Linked DNA regions of Homo sapiens: all the other regions are linked to region 4. Evidence: promoter capture Hi-C in human tissues and cell types (Jung and others, 2019). All regions are on one chromosome and are shown on one strand. Each heading gives the region's core, a stretch centred on a gene start or on the middle of the fragment in contact. The rest is flanking DNA. Distances are from core to core; before and after follow the strand shown.

Region 1 (4,081 bases), core at 1,223-3,722, 240 kb before region 4:
ATCATGTTGTTTCCATGACTTTAGCCTCTTGTATTCACTCTCTGCAATATATCCTTGTGTCAGCCTTAGTTCAGTCTTCATTATTTCTTAACTAGCTCTCTTCAATGGGATCCATGCCCCTAGACCACCCAACTCCAATTCGAACTCAGTGTTCCCTATAGCTTCCAGGATGACTCCTTAGAAAAGCATCCAATGTTCTTAATCAAGATCTCACCCTCTTATGTCTCTAACTTGTAGGTAACTCCTGATAAACTAAATATGATACCATGTACTGGGTGAATAGTGTTGATGTTCTATAACAAAACAAAATTTCCTATGAAGTGCAAACCTTTAGAAGAGAATATTTATGTATTTTATTTTTAAGTTCCAGGACATCTGCAGTATGTGCAGGTTTGCTACATAGGTAAATGTGTGCCATGGTGATTTGCTGCATCTGTCAGCCCATCATGTAGGTATCAAGCCCAGAATGCATTAGCTATTTTTTCTAATGCTCTCCCTCCCCTAACCCCACCCCACAACAGGCCCCAGTGTGTGTTGTTCCCCTCCGTGTCCATGTGTTCTTGTTGTTTAGCTCCCACTTATAAACGAGAACATGCAGTGTTTGGTTTTTTTGGTTTGTTTGTTTTGTTTTGTTTTGATTTGTTTTTGAGACGGAGTCTCGTTCTTTTGCCCAGGCTGGACTGCAGTGGCGCTATCTTGGCTCACTGCAAGCTCCGCCTCCTGGGTTCACGCCATTCTCCTGCCTCAGCCTCCCGAGTAGCTGGGACTACAGGCGCCCGCCACCACGCCTGGCTAATTTTTTTGTATTTTTAGTAAAGACTGCGTTTCACCGTGTTAGCCAGGATGGTCTCGATCTCCTGACCTCGTGATCTGTCCACCTCGGCCTCCCAAAGTGCTGGGATTACAGGCGTGAGCCACTGCACCCGGCCGCAGTGTTTGGTTTTCTGTTCCTGTGTTAGTTTGCTGAGGATAATGGCTTCCAGCTCTATCCATGTCCCTGCAAAGGACATGATCTAATTCCACTTTATGGCTGCATAGTATTCCTTGGTGTATATGCACCACATTTTCTGTATCCAGTCTATCATTAATGGGTATTTGGGTTTATTTCATGTCTTTGCTATTGTGAATAGTGCTGCAATGAACATACGTGTGTGCATGTATCTTTTTTTTTTTTTTCCTGAGGAGTCTCGCTCTGTCACCCAGGCTGGAGTGCAGTGGTGCGATCTTGGCTCACTGCAACCTCCACCTCCCAGGTTCAAGCGATTCTCCTGCCTCAGACTCCTGAGTAGCTGGGATTATAGGTCCTATCTTTATAATAGAATCATTTATATTCCTTTAGGTATAAACCTAGTAATGGGATTGCTGGGTCAAATGGCATTTCTGGTTCCAGATCTTTGAGGAATCACCACACCATCTTCCACAATGGTTGAACAAATGTACACTCCTACCAACAGTGTGAAAGTATTCCTATTTCTCTGCAACCTCACCAGCATCTGTTGTTTCTTGACTTTTTAATAATTGCCAGTCTGACTGGCGTGAGATGGTATCTCAATGTGATTTTGATTTGCATTTATCTAATGATCATGAACGTTGAGCTTTTATCATGTTTCTTGGCCACATGAATGTCTTCTTTTGAGAAGTATCTGTCATGTCTTTTGCCCACTTTTTAATGGGTAATTTTTCTTGTAAATTTGTTTAAGTTCATTGTAGATTCTAGATACTAGACCTTTATCAGATAGATAGAGAGCAAAAATTTTCTCCCACTCTGTAGGTTTCCTGTTCACTCCAATGATAGTTTCTTTTGCTATGCGGAATCTCTCTGTATTTTAAACATAAAGTTAATTCTATATAAATACTTAGAAAAAAATTAACCATTCATTTGACTTGCTTTAAAGAACAGAAAGCTAGCTTTTATGGGTATTATTTATATTTCTTCCCAAAAGACAATGAAAAAAAAAAGAGTATGAGAACCAAAATATAGCAACACAGGGACAACTTGACATAGTGAATAAAACCCAAGCCTTGGAATCTGAAGGACTTAGGTTTAATTCCTTGCCTTGTATTTTACTTTATATTTAATCTCTCTTAAACTCGTTTCCCTTCTTTGTAAAATGAAGACAATAAAGCCTACTTTTCAGGGTTGTATCAAGATTGAAATCAAATAATGCTTGTGAAGAACTTAGAAAACACCTGAATACTATATGTCCTCCATGAATAGGAACACAATGAAGAAAATAAATGCATAATATGTTGCTAGAGAGCCTGGCCACCATCCCTTTCGGCCCAGGACTGTGACTGCGTCAGAATGACTCTATTTTACCTACTGCAGGACTTCTTGGGTAACAATGAAAGATTAAGTGCAATTGAAGTTAGAAAAAAATCCGTGAAGGATGCCAATTGACTCAATTAGAGTAAGTTCTTAGACTCCAGGGAAGATATTTAGAGCAACAAGGAAGTATCACTTCTTTGACGTCAATTACGATAAATGCATGAGCAAGCTATATCTGGTTACCATGGGGGTAGTCACATATCAAATCATACCAAATTTCTTTAGAAATAACAAAGTGAACTAAGAAATTCAGTTTATGAATCATCAGAAAGTTTGTTTCTGTAACATAAATTAATCTTCATGGGCCCTCTACTCTGAAAGTATTTGCCTATAGTAAGAATGTCCCAGACTTCATAATCAAAGCTTCACACTGCTATTTTTTTCTCACATTTGAGGTGGAACTGGAAAAACATCTTGCCCAACTCAATACACTTATATCTGTTTACCTATAATAATTATTTCTTTAGACAAACTTTAAAATATTCCACACACCTGTGCTGGGGAAGAATCAAGACAGAGGGACAGAAGAAAAGATAACTCACATTTTTTCTAAATTTAACATATTACCCACTAAAATAAAATAAGGTAAAGTTTATGGCAGTTTTTCATATACTCGCTCATGCAAAGCATGTAGAAAATGCTATTCATACTTTGTTCACATTTATCTTTACTTTCTTTAAGCATCATTGCCTTTTTGTATTTTTCAAGTAAGAAAAGAGTTCAAATTCAGTTAATTTACTTATTTTGTTTTGCTGAATCTCAGCTTAACATACAGATTAATTCATCCCAAAAGCTAATAAATAATTTTTTAGAAAATAGGACATTGAGGTATAATACGTTAGCTAACGGGCTTTTTCTCATTTGGGGTATATTATTTCCTTTAAAAATGTGTCCTTGTTTAAAAAATTTTTTGAATCCAATCCTCAACTTAGAGTTCTACATTAAAGCAATAACTAATATATTTGGAAATGTCTATTGTAAGCTGGACATGGTGGCTCACACCTGTAATCCCAGCACTTTGGGAGGCTGAGGCGGGCAGATCACTTGAGGTCAGGAGTTCGAGACCAGCCTGGCCAATATGGTAAAACCCCTTCTCTATTAAAAATATGAAAATTAGCCGAGTATGGTGGCACATGCCTGTAGTTCCAGCTACTTGGGACGCTGGGGTAGGAGAATTGCTTGAACTGGGGAGGCAGAGTTTGCAGTGAGGTGAGGTCACACCGTTGCACTCCAGCCTGGGCATCATGGTGAAACTCCGTCTCAAAAAAAGAAAAAAAAAAGAAAAAGAAAGAAATGTCTATTGTAAATCAAAGAAAAGTAGTAAAAGGCATTGGCAATAGATCAATAAGGAAAAATACAAAGATTTAGAAATGAGAAAACACAAGAAAGTCTTCATAATTTATACGTATATGTGACTAGACTTGAGGTTTGATATACGAAATACCAGGAGCCAGAAGGTACACCACTGTCCACCTGGTTTCTAGGTGAGCAGCCCCTTTCTGTGCTTGTTTTCTCTCAGCTTCGCTTTTTACTCCTATGTCAAAGGCAAAACAGAGATTGCTTCTGGGCCTTGCTGTTTTCCTACATTTGCCTTTGTCATGAGCTCTTCCTTTTTCTCTCTGCCTGTTGATTCAATTATAGAGCTATCCTCTATTCAGGCATAAGACAATTCCTTTCTATCAAGTATAAACAAATCAGGCAGTCACATTTATAGAGGGAACACAGGAGAAGCAATGGCTGACAGCCCGCTTC
Region 2 (4,234 bases), core at 1,344-3,843, 190 kb before region 4:
GAATTACAGAGAAGCCACACAGCTGAATTAGAGCCTATTCACCACCCATGAATCTTAAAGTGCCATCTACTGGATCACAGCCCAAACTATAATACCAAAAATATTTTGCTAATATACTCACCCTGTGAAGCCAAGGACAAGCGTTCAGCCATAAAGACCCTATACAGAGTCTTGGCCATCTAAAAACATCTAGAAATGAAGCCAATGGACTATGATCAACTTACACCCAAATTAAAGAAACACCAACCCTCCCAGATGAGAATCAATTAGTGCAAGAACTCTGGCAATTTAAAAAGCAAGTATCCCTTTACCTCCAAAGAAGTCCACTAGCTCTCCAGCAATGGTTCTTAACCAGTCTGAAATGACTGAAATGACAGATATACAATTCAGAATCTGAATGGCAAGGAAGCTCATAAAGATTCAGGAGAAAGTTGAAACCCAATCAAAGGAATCCACAGAATCCAGTAAAACAATCCAAGAGCTGTAAGACGAAATAGGCATTTTAAGAAGGAACAAAACTGAACTTCTAGAGCTAAAAAATTAATTACAAGCATTTCATAATACAATCAAAAGTATTAACAGCAAATAGACTAAGCTGAGGAAGGAATCTCAGAGCTTGAAAAATGAGTTATTTGAATCAACACTCAGACAAAAATACAGAAAAAAGGAATTTTAAAAAATGAACAAAACTTCCAAGACACATGGGATTATAAAAAGAGACCAAATCTATGACATATTTGTATTTCTGAGAAAGGAGACAGAATAAGCAACTTGGAAAATATCTTTGAGGATACAGTTTGTGAAAATTCCCCTAATTGCATGAGAGAGGTTGACATGAAAACTCAAAAAATACCAAGAACCCCGGCTAGAAACTACACAAGATGACCACTCCCAAGGCACATAGTCATCAGATTCACGAAGGTCAACACAAAAGAAAAAGTCCTAACGGTAGCTGGAAAGAAAGGTCAAGTCAGATATAGATGGAACCCCATCAGGCCAGCAGCAGACCTCTCAGCAGAATTGGAAGAGATAATTTATGAAAGCAAGAAGGTCCCTGAGGAGGTGAGTAGCACTTATAACCCAATTTCTGGTGGAAGATTTGTTCTCAAGGAGGAAGGAGCTATTTTTCTACTTAGATGCAATAGAAGAATAGAAGGTTGACCGAAAGAACATGTGTCTTTAACAAACACTTATGAGGTGCCTATCACTGTCTTAGGAGCTTTACAAATGCCTGTCACTGTCTTAGGAGCTTTACAAACATCAACAATACAATGCTCCTTACAACCTTGTGAGGTAATATTATTATTCCCATACTACAGATGAGAAAACAAAGGCACAGTCACGTAACTAGGAAGGAACAGAGACAATTTGATCCCAAGCAGTCTGGCTACAGAGTTCACAATTATAGCCCTTAGTTCTATGTCTCACTTTAAGGAGAGGTTCAATCATATAAATTAATTTGTCCATTTATTTAAATAGTTTATAAGACAATAAAGGATGGCATACCAGTGATTAATACAAGGACTTGGAGGGAGAAGAAAAAGAGGGAATGAGTAAAAAGGGAAAGAAGTAGTAAGTTCTAAGAGGACAAAATGAAACATGTAAAATTAAGCCCCTGGGAAAAGCAGTGGTGACTCAATGTGTGGAAATTCATACATTCAATGTTCTTGAGCAAACAAGATTATTTTTGTAGTAAATTTGCTTAATTTTTATTTTACTTCAGAGGACTATTAAATTTACTAATATATTACCAAGGGTAAGATAATTTATTTCTGGGTAAAGGGATCTCAAAGAAACACATTAAATTCTTATAGCTGGAACATAAACAAACATATACAGGCATGGCATTAGTTTATTAAGAGAAAATATAGGAAAACATATTATGCCATATATGTTCATGTTTTCCAGTTGGATTGCTAAATTATTAACAAATAGGTGAAGAAAATCGAATGTTATTGAGGGGAATAATTTGAAGATCTTATGAGTCATTAAATATTTATGAAATAAGCCGTAATAATCAAAAATGGCAAGCTTAATCAAATATTCCTTTTAAATATATTAGAAATATTACTTGGTATTTTATATTTATTTGATAGGGTAATTTGATAATCCATGTTATCAAATAAAGAATTTTTCCTCTCAATAAAAATAAAAATAAAGAACTTTTTCTTATTTTCTAAGTATGCCTATAACGCAAATAAATAGCAGTTTGAGATATGAAAGGTCATATATATATTTATAAAACAAAATATTGAAATTAATAAGATATATAAATTCTAGAAATTCAAAAGCATTTACATAATACTTTTTAAAGAAAGTTTTAAATTTTAATGTAGTACACCTGAATTATCAAACTCCAAGGTTACACACTATAGGACTGAAGAGTATTTAATATAATTTCTCCATAGAAGATACCCATAGTTAAAAATTTAGCAAGGAAGAGATATAGAAATTCATAGAAGATATAGTTTGAATCCCTACATCTTTGAGTCTAATCACGCATTATTTATACACATATTCAAATTAAATAAGGATCTAATAGAATATTTCTAGCCACATGGCCACCCAGACACTCAGATCCTCATAAGGCAACTCACAAACTTGAGTAAATCTAAGATGATGAAGTTGACTTTTTGAGTGAAGGACTGAAAATTGTACCCTTTGTCAATCAGTACTAACCAGTAACTTTTTGCTCATTGGGGGAATGATAAAGGAATTCTTAGTTCTGTGTTTATAGATCTCTCCTTCCTATCCCTTCTCACCACCTGAAGTAGTGAGAGTCATTTAGAGATCATTGCAATGGTCCAGAGAGAGAGGGTGATGGTCAGGTCTAGAGAGGAAACAGAGAAGCTGTCTTGGACAGGCTCACTTTGAGATGCTTACTGAACACAGTAGCCTGTTTCCTCCTGAGTTTGTAGTTGCAGATAGATGATCTAGAAACAGGTGGTGGGGAGAGAGAGAGAGAAAGTCAGAAAAAAAGTACGGAAGAAAAGGAAGTGGGGAAAGGCAAAGGAGGAAACCCAAGAAATATACAATACTTAAAATTAAAGAAGAGGAATGAGAGTCAAAGGTAGTTTTTTAAAAGGCAGGAGGATTAGAAAAGTGTTATCATAAAAAAACAGTTTGAAAGAGAAAGTCAGTGAGGAGCTATCAAGGGTAGGAAGAGACGGTCAAAGACATCAAATACTGCACAAAAATTAGGCAGTTGGAAACTAAAGCTTTATTGGTGATCTTTGGCAAAGTCATTTCAATAAAGTGGATGTAGAAGTCAGATTGGTGAGTTGAAGAGATAATGGGAGAAAATTTTCCACCCCTAATTTTTTGTAATAAGTTTGGATTATTCAGTGACTATATTAACTAAAGGGAAAGTTGGTAAAATCCATACAGTATGCAGAAATTATTTTAAGTTTGGTAAAAAGGGAAGAAGACAATGACACAGCAGCTCCAATGGCTGCCAGGTCAAATTTTTAGCCTACAAACAATTTTATAGGCTGGAAAGAAAGTGCCAGAGCCAAAAGAATGAAAGAAACTGAAAATGCAATGACACAAGGGATAAACAACACAAGAAGGTTATAAAGGTAAAGAAGAAAGAGAGATCAAGAGCACAAGTCTAGCACTGACTTTGCAAAGGAAAAGAGGTCCCTCTTGTTTAGAGATGAATGGCAGGAAGAAAGGATAGGTGAAGATGTATGAAATCAATTTAAATTTGAGGGTATAATTTTTAAGTTAGAAAGTTCTCACCTATTTTATTTTCTGTGTGATATGAGGAGAATACATCACCTGTAGAGGGGGAAAAATTGTTTAGGATTATCTCCTCTAATCCTCCAACTCTCTCATAAAAGTGGCACTATCATTCCCTCTACTCAGCAATGCAAAATGAGGCTCAGAGAAATTAAGGAACTCTCCCAAAGCCACTTAGTCAATATTTGGCAGTGTGACAGCAGAAACTTGTTCTTAATTGGTATGCTCTTTGGAACAATCTGAAATTCCTACATGTAGCCAGGTAGCATATGACTGCAAAGTGGGAAGTAAATTCTAAAGGTCATAGGGTACAAATTTGAGGCCTAAGAATATTTACCATAGCTGTATGTATAGATTTCTAATGTTTTATGAGCATTAGCCAGTCTCTGAAAATGCAAATCACCTGTAGATGAAAAGACGCCTCTCCAACTCCCAGCCAAAAGAAGAGTACACCAGTGCTGTTAGTTTCCACTGCTCAATTTAGCCTTTCAAA
Region 3 (4,074 bases), core at 800-3,299, 140 kb before region 4:
AATAGTAGACAGAAAATAACTAGGGGAAAGTATTGACCAAAGAAATTAACCAAATTTTAATTTTCTTACCATCTAAACAGTAAATTAACTGCACACAGTAGAAAAGAAATGGACAAATTACATAGAGACTTTAAGAACAAAAAATATGTAGCAAAAATATTAAAATATTTAAATGTAGTCACTTAAAAACTCAATTTCTATAATAGTAGATAAAATTTTAATCATGTGAATGAGCATTAGAATGTTATTCAAATTGCTTATGACTTAACACTGATTTAATTGTAGGCATTTAAACACAAAAATTAGGTAATTTTAACATTTTTTGAGATATAATTCATATAAAATGGAATTCACCATTTTAAAATACATAATAATGTGAACCTTCACTCATCGTTCACCAAAAATGCAGTTACTGTACATTCTGACTCAATTAGACTTTTAATCAACAATGTATAATGTTGTGGCCACTGTTTTTTTTTTCTGTATGTCTTTATCCTTATCATGGACTCTGGAGGATGTAAAGTAAGTACATGTAATCAGCTGTCATCTGGGCCACATATTTCTTTCCTGTACTTAGGATCATGATCACAGGGAATCTAGTTCCAAAAATGGAACAGCCAAACAAAAACAGCAGTTAACTAAACAAATGACAAGAAGAAATTTTCCAAATGTACATGACTTTTGCTCAACCTTCCAAGTCCATCTATTTACACTGCATTTCTTAGATATGTAACTGCTTTATTGAAGTATAATTCACATGCCATACAATTCACCCATTTCAATTGTGCAATCCAAAGGCTTTTAATGTCTGCAGTGTTGTAACCATCACCACAATCAACTTCAGATCATTCTCATCACCCCCAAAAAACACCCTGTATCGGTTAGCAGTCACTCTTCATTTCTCTCCAGCCCCACTGGGCCTATTCAAAAATTAAGGTATTTTCCCACTAAAAATGTGCCTCTTGTATAAAATTTACATAAATAGAATCATACAGTATGTGGCCTGTAAAGGAAAGATATTTATAGAATTCTAAGGCCTGGCCAGAGTGATCTTGAGGCAGGTCTTACAAGGCAGAGAAGTGTTGTGAGTGGGCAGAGTTTATTTGGATTGGTGAATCTAGCAGGAAGAGGACCCTGAAGAGAGTCTGGAAGGGCCAGCTGTTAGTTTTGATAAGTAAACTAGCTGTTTCACAGTCTTTCTTCCAGGAGCAAGTATTTCCTGGAATATGCACTTAAGTTGCTTTTGCTTAGTCCTAGTACTGTTGAACAAGGGACAAAGAATAATCTTGGTTTCTGTTATACAGCCTGATGTAATTATTTCCCAGCAAGACATACATTTTAAAATTTTTGTTGCTTTATTAGTGCCTCTATGTTAAACATTAACTTGGAGCATGTAATACATGAAAGGAATGTCTTATTTCCGATTTTAAAGCAAACACGTCCCCATTATGCTGATGGCATTATACAAAAGTTCACCAACTTGTCAGGTTTTTTTTTTCCTATTATGTTTTTATTTTTATTTTTAAATTTGTATTTCCATGATGTTGTATCTAAACATATATATTGTTGCTATTTGACACATACTGAACAATTAGATATGCATTATGGATTGTATCTTTTATTATTATAAAGTATACATCCTCATTTCTCAGGGGCTTTGCTTTTTTCTTTTTGTCACTGCCCTATATTTATCCTCTAGGCCCACCTTCTTCACTCTCAGCTGACACATTAGCTCAGCTGACCCCACATGTGGCTCTAGGGTAGGAAGGTGACCCAAAAACAGCCAGTGAGAGTTTCAGTAGATGCTTCATAGAGCAGACAGGAGATTTTAATTGATGGGAAATAAGATCTTTTTGTTGTTAATGTTGCTAACCTGGCAGATTTTAGGCCTACAGCTACTGAGGTACTTTGCTCCCACTTGGAGGCAGCCTGCCTGGGAAAGAAACCCACAGAGACTAAAGTTTCATTGAGAGGTAGAAAAGATTCCTGATAACATATGACGAACTAGATCAAGTCAGACCTTCAGTTTCTGCACTTGTGATCATGTGATCCAATAATTTCCCCACTCACTTTTTAAAGGGATTTAAGTGAATGTGAGTTTCTATCACTGCCCCCCACACACAAATCCACCTATTACAAGAACTAATTGTTTTAACGCTTTTAAAAAAAAGCTTTTCAACATGTTATGTCAAAGCATAATTTTCAAAAAGATGAAGCATAGGTCCCTAAAACTAATATGTAATGAGCAGTTGTGAAAATTCTGTTTAGTTATGTAATTAGGAAACAAGCAACACAATAAACCTTCTTGAAATAAAAAATGCAAGAGACTAGCATTATACACAGTGACAGAAAGAAAGCTGGAATACTATCTTAATGTTAGTATTTTTAATGATTAATATCTTTCAGGGATACTTGGGTTTGTTGTTTCCAACCAGACAAAAATAAATTACAACTCTACAGGACAAAAATTATTTGCAATGGGGCTGGGCACGGTGGCTCACACCTGTAATCCCAGCACTTTGGGAGGCTGAGGGGGGGGCGGGGTGGACCATGAGGTCAGGAGATCGAGACCATCCTGGCTAACATGGTGAAACCCGGTCTCTACTAAAAATACAAAAAATCAGCCCAGCGTCGTGGCGGGCACCTGTAGTCCCAGCTACTCAGGAGGCTGAGGCAAGAGAAGGGCGTGAATCCGGGAGGCGGAGCTTGCAATGAGCCAAGATCATGCCGCTGCACTCCAGCCTGGGGGACAGAGCAAGACGCCATCTCAAAAAAAAAAAAAAAAAAATTATTTGCAATGAATCAATGTTCTGGAGATTAACATCTATTTGGTATGGCTTTTAGCAATAGTAAAATAAAAAATCATCTAAAAAATATTACATGTACCTGGAGAGGCTCAGGTAGTTTGCCCCATTATATCATAAAAATAGTACGCAGTTTTACGATATTTTGATGTTTTCAATACTTTTTCTTAAGTTATTCCTTTATTCAAAAAGGTTACAACTACATGTTTTGCAATATGGATGGAATGTTGTTAGAACTCCTCCCTATGCAATTGGGATAAAAGTCTCCTATCCCTGGATCAAAACCTGGAAGTCATACTTAGACTTCCAAATATCCAAAAATGTACAGCTCCTTGCTCAACTGTGATATCCAGCATCAAGCATCCACTGCTGGTTAGATAGAATGAAGTGGGCTCTTTTTCAAATTAGAATATCCAAAAGTCATACCTCTAATCTATGGACAAATGCAGCTCATACTTTAATGAAGAATTTATTAGATTTCACCTGTTTTGTAGCATGTACCCCAGTATTTCATTTCTGTTTATAACTGAATATTTCATTGTATGCATAAACCACATTTTATTTGTCAGTTCATCAGCTGATGACCATTTGAGTTGTTTCCACCTTGGGGCTATTGTAAATAATGCTATTATGAACATCTGTGTAGAAGTTTGTGTGTAAATATACGTTTTCAATTCTCCTGTGTATGTATCTACGAGTTGAACTGATAGATCAAGCTTGCATTCCTGCAATAAATTCCACTTGGTAATGTTGTATATTTTCATGTCCTGTAAATTCAGTTTTCTAGAATTTTGTTGAAGATTTTTGCATCTATATTTACTAAGAGATATCGGTCAGTAGTTTTCATTTCTTTTAATGGGTTTGTCTGGTTTGTGTATCAGGGTAATATTGGCCTCACCAAATGTTTTGGAAGTGTTCCATCATCCTTTCATTTTGGGAAGAATTTGTGTAACATAGTAGGAATTCATGTTTAATGTTTGGAAGCATTCATCATGAAAGCCATCTAGTTGAACACTTTTCTTTATGGGACTTTTTTTGCTTACCAATACAATCTCTTTACTTGTTCTAGGTCTATTCGGATTTTACACTTCACTAAATTTTGGTAGCTTGCATCTTTGTAGGAGTTGTTTGTTTCACCCACTTATGTAATCTGTTGATTTCTAATTTTTCATTCCCTTATAATGCTTCTTATTTCTGTGAAGTCAGTAGTTAAGTCCTTTCTTTCACTCCTGATTTTAATCATTTGAGCTTTCTTTTTTTTCTTGTTCAG
Region 4 (4,312 bases), core at 1,344-3,843:
CAAAACTTCAGAATTATATCAAATTCCTATATGAATGCCTTTTTTGGGGGGTGGATCTAAATCAGCATAGCACTTTTGTGTGACTTTTTCTTAGTGAAAATATTAAAGGAACTTAGCATTTCTTTTCACCAGTACCACTGATGTCTCTAAGCCTCTTCTGTGAGTGCTCCCGTGATTCCTCCATCACCTTCAGCCACAGATTTAAAAAATCTACTAGCAATGGGGAAACAATCCAGAGTGACTTAGAAAAGAAAGATTCCTTGTCGTCATGGAACTTTTTTGTGTGTCATGTGTATCAAATGCAAATAATTACAGTCATTTCCCTCTCCTTAGGACAGAGCTTTAGTTTTCCCTGACATCCTGGTAAGACACTGTCTCAGTGACTGATACTCTGGAAAGTTCATCTTTAAAAGAGATGAACACCCAATCAATGTGTTGCATTCAGCAGATACCAGAAATACTGAGATACCAGAGTGGAGTGAAATCAGGGCCTTACTGGGGAGAAGGGGCTGGCCATCAACATTCGGTGAACATAGCAGGCAAAGTTACCATATTTGGGGACTAAAAATCTAATAATTCAGGTAAAGATCTCACATCATAACACCCTCACCACCCACACGCACAAACTCACTTTAGTTTTATCAGCAGCCAATAAAGTGAGATTTATTTCCTAATGAAAAGAATGCACTAAGAAAAATACAGATCTATAAGGCGATATTTTATTTGGGGATAGAAGAATCGCCCTAAACTGAGAATGTCAACTTTGTTTCAAGTAATACAGAAAAAGCACCTAGTACCAAACAGGTATACAAAGAAATAGCTGGGTTTAAGACTGGTCATGTAAACTCAAATGGAGTCAGTGTTCCCGAATGCCTAGATTTTCTTTCTGGGATGACTTAAAATTGAGCAAAGCAATCAAGAAAAGCGGCTACAGCTCACACTTCCTCATTGCTACAAGCAAGTCCCCCAACCCTGGAAACTCGGGACTTTAGACTTAAGCGTCCTCCACAAGTTCTTTGTTCAACCAGTAACCTCACAGATTCGTCTGTGTTGGCTTCATAGTCACAGCTAAAGGGGTGCATGGCTCTAGTGAGATCTTACTTAGCTCTAGACACCTGCTATTGCGTTTGACAGCTATGACCTATTCTTCCAGACAGAACCTACACTGGAACTCCCACCAGCAGAAGGAAATTGGTGCGGTGGAAACGGGGAGCAGGGTTCGAAAGCACAGGCAAAAGGCGCTCACAGGAAGCAAGATCCACGCTGGCCACACAAACTGTATCTTTCCCTTTGGAACGCTGGTACATCTCATCCATGTCAAGTGACTCCCCAGTACGTTCGGTTTGATCGCCTGTTGCCCTAACACTTTTCAGGCTAAAAACTACCTTGGTGCTGGGAGACACACTGGGTGGTTGGGTTTCCTCCAAGCAGGGCTTGATACGAGGGCACAGAAGGGCAGCTAAGGGTCACGTCTCTGGGTGCACAGGGTCCAAGTCCTAATTACAGAGGAGACCGGCTGCCCTTGTCTGTGCCCCATTCTCCAGCAAAGGGGTATATCGCAGGTTTGTGATTTTTAGTACCAAACTTGGGGCGATCAATTCAATTCCCTCCACCTTATGAGAAAGCAGTAAACCGAAATCCCCGGTGGGGCACTGGGGAAATTCCTACTCGGAAGAGAAACGGAGTTAGACTGCGTGTCCCCCACGCCCTGATGTCTGCTTTCCTGGTTCCTTCCAACTCATCCTCCAAGACGAAGGGAGCCGGGCGGGAAGCAGATGCCCAGAACGGGGATTCGTCGCAGGCTTGGTTAGGGGTCCCCAGAGCTGCGCTGCGCTGCACTCAGGCTACCCGCACCAAGCATCCCCGGAAGCCTCCCCGGGATTCACCCTGCGCGGCTGCAGGGCCCGAAAGGTCATCTTCCCACGAGTGCCACCAAGGGAGCCTGGGGGAGCGAAGGCCGGGCTCGGACGCCGCCAGTCCAGAGACCCCCTCATTGCCCCTTACCTGCCCGCGGCGAATCCGGCAGCCCCCTGACAGCTCCCAGCAGCCGCCACTGGAAAAGTTTCCGAACTTCTTCGCAGGTCTGCACGCCCTCGCTGCGGGCGGACCCAACCAGGGCCAGAAGGAGGAGGCAGCGAAAGCCCACGGGCCAGGTCTGTGCGTCCATCCTCGCCGTCCTGGTCCCCTTTACCCGCCAGTGGACCCCACTCGCCCTGCGCGCCCTGGCTGAGCTGCAGACGTGGAAGACACAGCGGCCGAGGCTCTCGAGCGGTGCGAGCCGGCTGCGGGGTGTACGGACCGCCCGCGGGCACCGGCTTCACCTGGGAGCAGTTAGCTCTTCCCGGAGGAGGCCCTAAGCTGAGACACCAGAGTTTTCCAGCTGAGCACCCTCTGGTCTTCTTCCCTAGCCGAGAAGAGTGGGCGGCTGGGCGGGGCGAAGAAAACTAGTGGAGCCGCAGGGAGCCCGCAAGCATCCGCTCTGGCCACCACTGCTGCAACTGCTGCCGCTGCCGCCACTGCCGCCACTGCCGCCACTGCCGCCGCCGCCGCCGCCTCCGCCGCCCGGCTCGGCTCGCAGCAGCTAACCTGGGATGTGCCCGCTCGCTGCGCTCCGCGGAAGCCCCGCCCCGCACTCCCCGCCCCGCGGACAGGCCACGCCCCTGCCACGCCCCCGGCGCGCTGTCCCGCTCCGCACCCACTAAGATGCTGTCATACGCGGCCCAGTGCTGAAGACTCGGAGCGACATCGATGCAAATAAATAGAAGGAAACCCGGACCTCGCTCTCCCAGTCCGTTCTGGGGAAGAATCATCTGATAAAAACAGAGAATGTATAAATAGGGTCAGAGAAGACAAGAGATGAGAAACACCAACTGGAACTAAGAAATATCTCATCTATGTAATCAAGGTCCTCAGTACATAGGAATTTGTATTCTAATTGCATTAAATAGGATCTGGACATAATACAAAAGGCAAAAACTATTTACGGTTAAAGATCTCAATTGAGAGACTTCATAACACTTAGGTTGTTAAAGAGTGCACATGAGAAGTTATTTTTTAAAATGGCTTTGTTTTACTGCTTAGGAACATTTTTCTATAACATGATTTTCTGAAAGGAGGTATAAGAATTACAATCAAACTTTATCACATTCTTATCACAATGAAATCTAGTTTTAAGTCTCTTATCACCATTTAGCATCATATTTTACTTCAGCACTTTGTATTTGTGGGGCTCCTCTGAGCTTTACCACTTCTGGAATTTCTTTAAAATATTTTTCAGAGAGCAATTAAGTTAAGAGTGCTCAGGGGAGTTCCTTACAAGGAATATAGAAAAATAAATACTTTAAGCAATTTTAAAATGGCAAAGGAATTTTGTCAATTTACAGTTTATGAGAGGAATGCATTACGCACCATAAACCAAAGGGCAGGTGCATTTTTTAAATGTGGTTGACTCAACAACTAAGCCTGTAAGAGTGTCTCAATCTACAGCCACTTGAAGAGAGTACTCCTTCTGTAAAATAAACTAGTTAAAAGCATCAGGCAGAGGGGACAATGAATGCTTTAACCACTTTAAGGAATTTCATCTCAAATTTGAACCCTTACCAAGAGATAGTAGTGAAAAACTTTATGTCTTAGTGAAGATTTTTAATGAACATTTAATATCAAAGGCAGCACTTTCAGCAGTATATCACTTGCTTTAAAACCATTCCAGGGCAATGGCTGAAACACTGCTTCAGAGTGAAATCATGCTACTTGGTGTTTGGCATCAGTTTTCTGAATATGAGATTTTGTTTCAAAGGGCAGTGCTCTTCATGAATCTCTTCTGCTCTAACCACCAAGTATGGAAAGATTGTCTGGAAGCCACCTATATCTATGAAAAGAAACAAGAAAAACCATGAGAATGTATATAGTGCTTATGGGCCAGATAATATTCTAAGTATTTTATGGAAATGAATTCACTCATGTAATCTTTATAACAACCTTATAAAGTAGTTACTACTATTATCATTGTTTTACAGATGAGGAAACAGGAACACAGAGGTGAAGTGACTTACTGAATGCCTAAGGTAAGTGACAAAGCCAGAAATCAAACTGAGGCTTCCAAATCCAGACCGCATGCTCTTCTCCAGAGGCTCTCCTTGACTATTCTGTGGTACAGAAAAACCCATCAGGTTTCACCAAAGGCCTTTGGGCAGCAACACCAAGGGCTGTTTATTCATTTAGCAGATTTTTTACTAGTAAATATGCATAATTTCTATCTATATAACTGTATTCTACTGGAATTATGTGTATCTCTATATAAGGCTAATAAATT
Region 5 (4,524 bases), core at 1,863-4,362, 140 kb after region 4:
TTATAACCTCAAGGGAGAGGATAATACAAATTTAAAAATCCAATCCAAATGAAAGCAAATTCAAATATAAGAAGTGACAGCTTCTTCAAATAAGAAGGAATCATTGTAAAAACTCTAGCAGTACAAAAAGACAGTGTGTCCTGTGAACTTTGAAAGGAGAGAGGGTGAGAGAGGAGTTAGGGTTGAAAAATTACCTCTTGGATACATGTTTAATATTTGGGTGATGGGTGCACTAGAAGCTCAATCTCCACTATTAAGCATGTACTATCCATGTAACAAACAAGCACATGTATCCCTGAATCTAAAATTAAAAAAAAAGACAGAGTGTTTAGACGCCCCAAAGAATCACACTAGATCTCTAGCAATGGATCATAAGCAAAATGAAAACTCTGAAATGACAGATAAATAATTCAAAATACAGATCATAAAGAAGCTCAATGATATCCAAGACAAAGTTGAAAATCAAAACAAAGAAATTGTGAAAACAGGATAGGAATGAAAAATTTGCTAAAGAGATAGATACATAAAAAAACAGGACTTATGGAAAAGAAAAATTTATTGGAAGAATTATAAAATATAGTAGAAAATTTAACAACAGAGTAGACCACGTGTAGGAAAGAATTTTAGAGTTTGAAGACCCATTATTTGAATTAACCCCGTCAGACAAAAATAAAGAGAAATGAATTTTAAAAATGAAAAAGCCTTCAAGAAATATGGGATTATGTAAAGTGACCAAAACTATAACTTATAAGCATTCCTAGGGAGAAGAAGTAAAAAATAGAAAATTTGGAAGATGTATTTGACAAAATGATCAAGAAAACTTCCCAGTTCTAGATAAATAATTAGATATCCAGATACGGGAACTTCAAAGAACATTTGGAATAATCTCTGCAAGACAAGGCTCATCAAAGCATATGTTCGTGAGGCTATCCAAAATTGACATGAAGGAATACATCCTAAAAGCAGCTGGAGAGAAGCATCAAAGCACCTATAAAGGAAATCCCATTAGACTAACAGTTGACTTCTCAGCAGAAACCTTAAAAGCCAGAAAGGACTGGGGTCCTATTGTCAGCCTCTTTGAAGAAAACAATGCCAGCCAAGAATTTCATATCCTGCTAAACTAAGCTTCATCAATGAGGGAGAAATGAAATCTTTCTCAGATAAGCAAATGCTAATGGAATTTATTACCAGTACACTGGCTCTCCAAGAAATGCTCAAATGAATTCTAAACATAAAAATGAAGGGAAAGGATGTACTCAGGATTATAAAAGCACACATAAGTACAAAGGTCACACCCTACAAAGAAATTACACAATCAAGATTACAAAGCAACTAGGTAACAACATTATGACAGGAACAAAACCTCACATATCAATATTAGCCTTGAACGTAAATGGCCTAAATGCTCCAGTTAATAGGTATAGACTGGAAAATTGGATAGAACAAAACACAACAAGATTCAACCATTTGCTGCCGACAAGAGACCCACCTAACAGATAAATACACACACAGACTCAAAATAAAGGGGTGAAAAAGATATACCAGACAAACATAAGACAAAAACAAGCAGGAGTAGCTATACTTATATCACATTGAACAGACCTTAAATCAATGAAAGTTAAAAAGATAAGATTATTATATAATGTTAAAGGGTTCAATTCAACATGAAGATATAACCATTATAAATTTATATGTACCCAACAGCAGTCCACCCAGCTTCATGAAACAAATCCTCCTAGACCTAAGTAAAGAGACAGAGAGCAGTTCAATAATACTGAAGTCTTCAAAACACCACTGAGAGCACTAGGCAGATCACTAAGGCAGAAAATCCACAAAGAAACTCTGGACTTAAACTGGTTGCCAGACCAAAAGGACCTAATAGACATTTACAGAATATTCCACAAAACAATTGTAGAGTAAACATTTTTCTCATCTGGGCATGGAACATTCTTGAAAATAAACCATATGCTTGGCCATAAAGAAAATCTCAATAAGTTTTTTAAAAACCTGAAATCACGTTGCATATCTTTTCAGACTACAGTGGAATAAAATTAGAAATCAATACCACCAGAAACTCTGAAAGCTATAGAAACACTTGGAGACCAAACAACTTGCTCCTGAATGATCTTCAGGTAAATGATGAAATTAAAGCAGAAATCAAAAAAATTTTTGAAACGAATAAAAATAGAGACACAACATAGCAAAACCTCTAAGATATAGCAAAAACAGTGCTAAGAGGAAAGTTTATAGCAAAATATCTACATAAAAAAGATAGAAAAAAATTAAGTTAACAACCTAATGTCATACTTCAAGGAGCTAGACAAAGAAGAAAAGAAATAAAAAAGATCGGAGCAGGACTGAGATTGAGACAAAAAAATACAAAGGATCAATGAAATAAAAAGTTGTTTCTTTGAAAAGATAAAGAAAATCAATAGACTGCTAGCTCTACTAACCAAGAAAAAAGAGAGAAGATTCAAATAATATTCAACATCGTACTGGAAATCCTAACCAGAGCAACCAGGCAAGGGAAAGAAATAAAACAAAAACAAAAACAAAAACCAAACAAAAAACATCCAAATTGGAAAAGAGGAAGTCAAATTATCTCTGTTCACTGATGACATGATCTTATACCTGGAAAACACTAAACACCCCTCCAAATGACTCCTAGACTTGATAAATGACTTCAGTCAAGTTTCAGGTTACAAACTTAATGTACAAAAATCAGTAGCATTTCTACACATCAATAACGTTCAATCTCAGAAGCAAATCAAGAACTCAGTCTCATTTATAGTAACCACAAAAAATTAAATAAAATACTTTGGAGTACAGCTAACCAAAGAGGTAAAAGATCTCTACAAGGAGAATTACAGAACACCAATAAAAGAAATAGTAGATAACACAAATGGAAAAACATCTCATGCTCATGGATTGAAAGAATCAATGTCATTAAAATGGTCACATATTCTAAAGCAATGTAAGACTCAGTGCAATTCCTATCTAATTACCAATATCACTTGCCACAGAATTAGAAAAAATAATCCTAAAATTCGTATGGAACCAAAAAAGAGCCCAGATAGTCCAAACAATCCTAAGCAAAAATAACAAAGGTGGAGGCATCACATTACCTGATTTCAAATTATGCTACAAGACTATTGTAACCAAAACAGCATAGCACTGACACAAAAGTAGACATATAGATAAGTGGAACAAAATAGAGAACCTACAATAAAATGATCTTTGATAAAGCCAAAAAAAAAAAAAAAAAACACAATGGGGAAAGGACACCCGGTGAAAATTGGCATATGCGGAAGAAAAAAAACTGGATCCATATTTCTCACCATATACAAAAATTAACTCAAGATGGATTAAAGCCTTAAATGTAAGACATGAAAATACAAAAACCCTGAAAGAAATCCTAAGAAAAACTCTTAAGACATTGGACTAAGCAAAAAATTTAAGACTAAGACCTCAAAAGCAAATGCAACAAAACCAAAAATAGATAAGTGGGAGTGAACTAAACTAAAAGGCTTCTGCAGAGCAAAAGAGATAATCAACAGAGTAAACAGACAACCTACAGAATGGGAGAAAATATTTTCAAACTGTGCATTGAACAAAGGACTTATATCCAAGGTTGACAAGAAACTCAAACAACTCAACAAGAAAAAACGCGATCCCATGAAAAAGTGGGCAAATGACATGAACAGATAAGCACATAACTAGATGCTCAACATCATTATTCGTTAGGAAAATACAACATAAATATACAATGTACTATTTCTGCAAACCCATTACAATACCTAAAATTAAAAGGAATGACCTTATCAAGTGTTGGTAAAAAGATGGAGAAACTGTAAACCTTACACATTGCTTATGGGATGTAAAATGGTGAAACCACTTTGGAAAACCATTTTGGCAATTTCTTAAACAGTTATAGATATACCTGTATATAACCAAGCCATTTAAATTCTAGATATTTCTGTAAGAAAAATGCAAGCCTCAATGACTTGTGCATTAGTGTTCATAGTAGTCTTATTTGTAACAGTGAAAGCCAGGAAACAACTCCAATGTCCATCAACCAGTGAATGTATAAACAACTGTGGTTTACACAATAAAATACTACTCAGCACTAAAAAGGAATACATGCCTCAATGCAGATAAATCTCATATAATTATGCTGTCCAGCAAATACTGGATAAATACAAAAGGTATCTCAAAGAAGCAAATGATCAATTTTGAAAAGTGTGATAATAGAAACCAGGAGTTGTTGGGGGAGCAAATCAGATGATGTTACTTTGCTGTCTCTGCGAATGGTATCAGTCTTTATTCATTTGCTGAAGTAAAATACGTGGACATCCTCTTAGACTTATTTTATCCCTTGCTCTTTCACCCAATTAGTTATAGTTGCTTTTCTCTCCTATATTAGATATTTTCGAAATGTATCTTATTTCTGTCTTGTTTTCTCTGATTCATCATCCACTACTTTGGTCAGCTCTTAATTATTTCCTACCTACAAGTACTTTGTAA
Region 6 (4,471 bases), core at 1,720-4,219, 240 kb after region 4:
AATAAATCCTCAAGTCACTGTTTTTCTTCAAGTAGCTGAATGGCCTACCCTCTCCAATTTCCACCACCCAGTAAAATCTGTTTTCCAGTTTTCCAGAAACCCTGGGACCTCTTGACCCAGGAAGGTATGATGCCATATGTTAAATCCACTTAGACTAAATTTAGAAGCATCTTTTCCCCTTCCCCAAGTGAGATCAAGCATTCTTTGAGGAGAGGCTAAGCATTGCTTCCGGAACTAAGGGTTGCAAGGTCAGAGGAATAAAGGGGGCTTTGTAATACCTGAGATTTAACCCTTCTTATTCCTTCCAAATACACCACAGATTTTGGATATATATAATGATAAACTTTCAAATGAATAAAATCTTTTTTGGGGGAATGAGCATTGAAAATATATTTGTTAAATGAATGCCATCTGATGGAATAATAATGTAGATCCAATTAGAGTTACACAATTCTTTCTCACATAAAAACAGAAGCTCATAATTTCTATTATCCTATGTTATCGATGAGAAAATTGAAAAACAGAAAGACACACTTCAAGTTCACAGATCTAAGACTCATTCATACTCATCTTCTGATTCCTGATTTAGTATACTTTTAATCAAACTTGGAAATCTCAACTAAATTCTATGTTATTTTTCTGTTTAGCAGTCTACATTATGGATGTCTCACTTAAACATTGGCTTAAATTTGTCTTAATTTATTAACTCAGGGCAAAGCTATAGGTTATTCCCTTTTCTGGTCAGGAAACAATTATTGGAATAGCTAGAAAGTCTCCACTTACTTCTTGGCTAGCTAAATTGCCCTATTACTCCTAAGTTAATCTGAATACTTTTAGGAGCCATGTTCTTCTGGGTTTAAGGATTTTTGAAAGGGTGAAGAGTGTTTTAGAGAATTTATCTCTTAAAGGAAAACTGAAACAGAGAAATGACCTTTAAGTGAGAGTTTTCATGAAAAGACAAACAAAAATTTAGGAAATTGTGATAGACTACATTTGCTTTTTAATACCCACCATATGTCTGATTTTATTCAGGGACTAGAGGAGTGGGTTAGTGCTTATTTTCACAGATTGTATAAATAACAGGCCTGCTATTGCTTCTTTCTTCTAGGTGATAACATTTTGGGTTGTACTGAAGTGCTAGGAAAAAAAACTTAAAACCATCACTAATTATTAATAGAGACAGTCCACTTTTAGGTCTTTGGTTTTTCTGTAATGCCGTGGACTGTGAGCTTTTACATTGGGGGTTGTTTTACCAACCAGAGATAAAGGCGATTGCCCTCAGGCATTTCAATATTAATATTTCATTTCTTGTTGTTTATTTTTCTCTCTGATTTTTTCAGGTTTTGCTTAATGATCTATACATCTAAAAGTAAGTTTTAAAATAAGGGTCCAGTAACATCTTTTTTTAATATATATTTTTACTTTTGTATCTATTCCTTTTTAGGACACCAAACACCAACTTTCCTACTTTCCTTTTCCTGTGTGTCAGTGGTAGGAGGGTAAGTAGATCTTGCTTACTCCCATGCCCACAGGAAAGGAAGCACTAACATTTGCAGAGTGCTCTCTGGGTCCAGGCACTGTGCTAACCTGTTACATATGTGGTGGTATAATATTTCAAAGTGCTAATTGTCCGGTAGAACTGCCAATTCTCCCAGCTTGGCGGCTAAATGGAAAAGCAACATGGCCGTGGGGACGATTTACGGTGGGGAACAAAGTTCTTTAGCTTTTAAGTTCAAAGGGCACCATCTGGGTATGACACAGGGAAATTTCTGAAAAGGAATGCAGTCAGGGAGAACAGGTTTTTCTTCCTAGTTTGAGACTAAAGAGATAAAGGAGCCTGGAGTTTGCAACCAAGCTATCCCCAAAGTCATTCAGTTCTAAAAACACTGGAATTGATGTTACTTTCTGCTTCCCTTCCTTGAAATATGTCTGTGGCTTCTTCATTTCAGAGGCCACCAAGAATCAGCAGTTTCTCAAAGGATAGCAGATTGAGGTTACTTCTTTGGGATTTGTAACAAAAACGGAACAATCGAGCACAATGGACTGTTACAGAAGGATTCATTAAACATTTTAGTGGACAAGTTTGCAGATACTGCTCTTTGGTAGTAGACATAAATCTCCCTATTCTTCCTCATTTCTAAGTTAATAACAAACAGGTCTTGCCTCAGCCTTACCCTTCTTGCTGCTGCTTCTGTTGGGTTTCAGAGGGCTTGCAGACTTCTGCAATGACTTCATCTGTAAGTATTTTCTAGCCTTTGTGGCAAATCTTTGTAAGTTCCCCATTTTCTTTAAGCCCATCCCTGGGGCCTCCTCATTGGCCACTGGCTTTCTGTCTCTCACTTGCGTTTCTCTTCTCTGTATCTTTGTCCTAACGTATCCAGTATCTGAAGCACACTAACACTACTCTGAGTTATCTTTTTTTCCCCACGAGTTTTTGTCAATATGCAGAATGAAAAGAGCTATTCATTTCCTTTAGAAAATTGTCATTTTGTAATAAAAAGTTTGACTTCTGGTAGTGAAAAATTTAGCATACCAATAGGAGGAATCATCTCCATTTCCTCCTTCTCCAGAAAATAAATAAGCCACACCCCTTTCTAGTTACTTCCTCAGTTTCTAATTGTAAAGCATCCCCGAAGCAACCATGCTCAGAACAGCAGTGACTAGCAGCTGCTGGAATTACAGAAGGGAGACAAAAGCTTTCAACCCTCTACTGCACGTGGTATGTTGGCTACTTCAGCAGTGTGGCCACTGTGAGAGAGCTGGGCTAGATGTTTGGGTTTTAGGTTCGTGCATAGCTCCTTGTACAGATGTCACTTCAGACAAAATCATTTGTCTTAATTCTTCATCTGCAAGACAGATTTCTACTACCACTGAGTTAGGATAAAATGCGATGAAATATATACAAACATTCAAGATAAACATGCTTTTATAATGCAGAGTAGTGGTGGTGTTCTTTGGAGATAAGGTGATAAAAAATTCACTGTCTTTTGTTAAAGACGAATAGACTCAAAATATATGTACTGTTTAGATAGGATTTTTTTTAAGATTAGATTTCAATGCAAATCTGTTTTGAAGATTAGTACAATCTGAACTGTTTTGGACATCTTTGTTTTGTAAATTATTTAAATGAAACAATTTTTGTAAAGCTGAGCAAATTATGCCACTTATAAGTCAGATTTTTTTCTTTTATTTTAACATAACAGCGAGGCAAATTAAAAGTCGTTGTGCAGAGTGAATACAAAGAACAATGACTGAGATTCTTGCTACTTAATAAGAATTGTTTAGTTCCAGACTTTAGAAAAAGTTATCACTTTTTATATTTGCTGGTGGCAATCAAATGCAAGGAAAAAACAGTTTTGAAGAAAAAAACCAAATAAATATTTCAAAGGCTATGCAGATCTATTTTCATTTTCACAGATGGAAATACTGCAAAGTTGATTATAGTATATTTATTTTATTCAGAACAATCTCAGTTGGATCTTTCCTTCTGTACAAAAAAATGTAATTTAGATGAAAAAGTGTGCTTTCATGTCACATTGATGTCCTATGTGGCCGGCATTTCAAAATTGATAGATGATATACATAATCTTTTCTACTTTGTTAAAAACAATACTCAAATTTTAAGTTTGTTTCTCTTCAATTGCTGTGATATGGCAGGGAAAGAGTAGAAGATTTGGTCAGGAATTAAGGCTGAAAGATTGATGTAGTCCAGATAGTTGCAACATGAGAAAGCAAGAGGGAAATAGGTGACTGCAAAAATACCATCTTGCATTGCTGAAGGAAGATGATGGAAAGTGGAAGAAAACCTAATTTGCCTCAGAAATGCAAAGCCATCTCAGGACTCCATTAACTACATTCCTGGGATGAGATTCAGAAGTATCACATCTCTCATTTCACCATCCCCTTCCAACATTTGCTCAACTCTGATGGAATTTTAAAGCTACATGCATCATCAGGTCAATATTTCAACCTGGAATTTTACATCTGGTTAAAGACACAGCACTCCCTTCCTTTCACTTTGTACCATGCACTTGGTGTCTTTTTGTAAGCATTTCTGTCTCCTGCACAGGACTAAGAATAACTTTGAGGTAAGGGAAATCTCCCTCTCTCTATTGCTAAGTGTATCTCTAGCAGGACTTACCACAGTACTATGCTTTTAATTAAATTTAAGAAATAAAATATATCCAGTTTACATAGTGTTTGTTTACTGATCAAAAACTACAATACATCTTTACAACAAATAGAATAATACTTATCCTAGGACCAATTAGGCAGAAGCCTACATAGACAACTGAAAAAATGTGAAAATTTCAGAAAAATAAATACTACTATTAAAAGAAAAATTTTGCCTGAGAAATGCAAGAAGAAAGTATTTGCATATGGCAGAAATAGACAGGTTTCTCCATTTGCCCCTGACTCTCTGTTCCCATGTCTATTCTCCGCCTTGGTCTGTTTTCTAGGAATGCAGCTT

The links. Contacts are between HindIII fragments. The study calls those that stand out against the background at their distance.
Region 1: a fragment that was not itself captured here is called in contact with the fragment with the promoter of GPC5 in region 4 in 2 of the 25 tissues and cell types used here (heart left ventricle and hippocampus).
Region 2: a contact is called between a fragment that was not itself captured here and the fragment with the promoter of GPC5 in region 4, in 4 of the 25 tissues and cell types used here (H1 embryonic stem cells, dorsolateral prefrontal cortex, heart right ventricle and 1 more).
Region 3: a fragment that was not itself captured here is called in contact with the fragment with the promoter of GPC5 in region 4 in 2 of the 25 tissues and cell types used here (dorsolateral prefrontal cortex and mesendoderm cells).
Region 5: a fragment that was not itself captured here is called in contact with the fragment with the promoter of GPC5 in region 4 in 2 of the 25 tissues and cell types used here (H1 embryonic stem cells and lymphoblastoid cells).
Region 6: a contact is called between a fragment that was not itself captured here and the fragment with the promoter of GPC5 in region 4, in 1 of the 25 tissues and cell types used here (lymphoblastoid cells).

Annotation. Positions count from the first base shown.
Region 1 is chr13:91,637,894-91,641,974 of GRCh38, reverse strand. All of the region lies in intron 2 of GPC5 (glypican 5), which reads right to left. Among named protein-coding and RNA genes, the nearest start is that of GPC5, 240 kb to the right of the region's middle. The HindIII fragment of the contact is 5,661 bases long and covers 1-4,081 here.
Region 2 is chr13:91,588,075-91,592,308 of GRCh38, reverse strand. All of the region lies in intron 2 of GPC5 (glypican 5), which reads right to left. Among named protein-coding and RNA genes, the nearest start is that of GPC5, 190 kb to the right of the region's middle. The HindIII fragment of the contact is 5,361 bases long and covers 1-4,234 here.
Region 3 is chr13:91,537,296-91,541,369 of GRCh38, reverse strand. All of the region lies in intron 2 of GPC5 (glypican 5), which reads right to left. Among named protein-coding and RNA genes, the nearest start is that of GPC5, 140 kb to the right of the region's middle. The HindIII fragment of the contact is 5,406 bases long and covers 1-4,074 here.
Region 4 is chr13:91,396,902-91,401,213 of GRCh38, reverse strand. It overlaps GPC5 (glypican 5), which reads right to left and starts at 2,593. Exons shown (of 8, transcript NM_004466.6): 1 at 2,005-2,593. The coding sequence starts at 2,167. LOC124903189 (a long non-coding RNA gene) reads right to left here. Exons shown (of 2, transcript XR_007063831.1): 1 at 4,053-4,312; 2 at 3,626-3,868. RefSeq lists silencers at 2,509-2,778, 2,485-2,779. The HindIII fragment of the contact is 16,121 bases long and covers 1-4,312 here.
Region 5 is chr13:91,261,470-91,265,993 of GRCh38, reverse strand. The region is part of intron 2 of LOC105370314 (a long non-coding RNA gene); the gene reads right to left. Among named protein-coding and RNA genes, the nearest start is that of LINC00379, 52 kb to the right of the region's middle. The HindIII fragment of the contact is 5,291 bases long and covers 467-4,524 here.
Region 6 is chr13:91,152,945-91,157,415 of GRCh38, reverse strand. All of the region lies in intron 2 of LINC00379 (long intergenic non-protein coding RNA 379), which reads left to right. Among named protein-coding and RNA genes, the nearest start is that of LINC00379, 57 kb to the left of the region's middle. The HindIII fragment of the contact is 6,821 bases long and covers 1-4,471 here.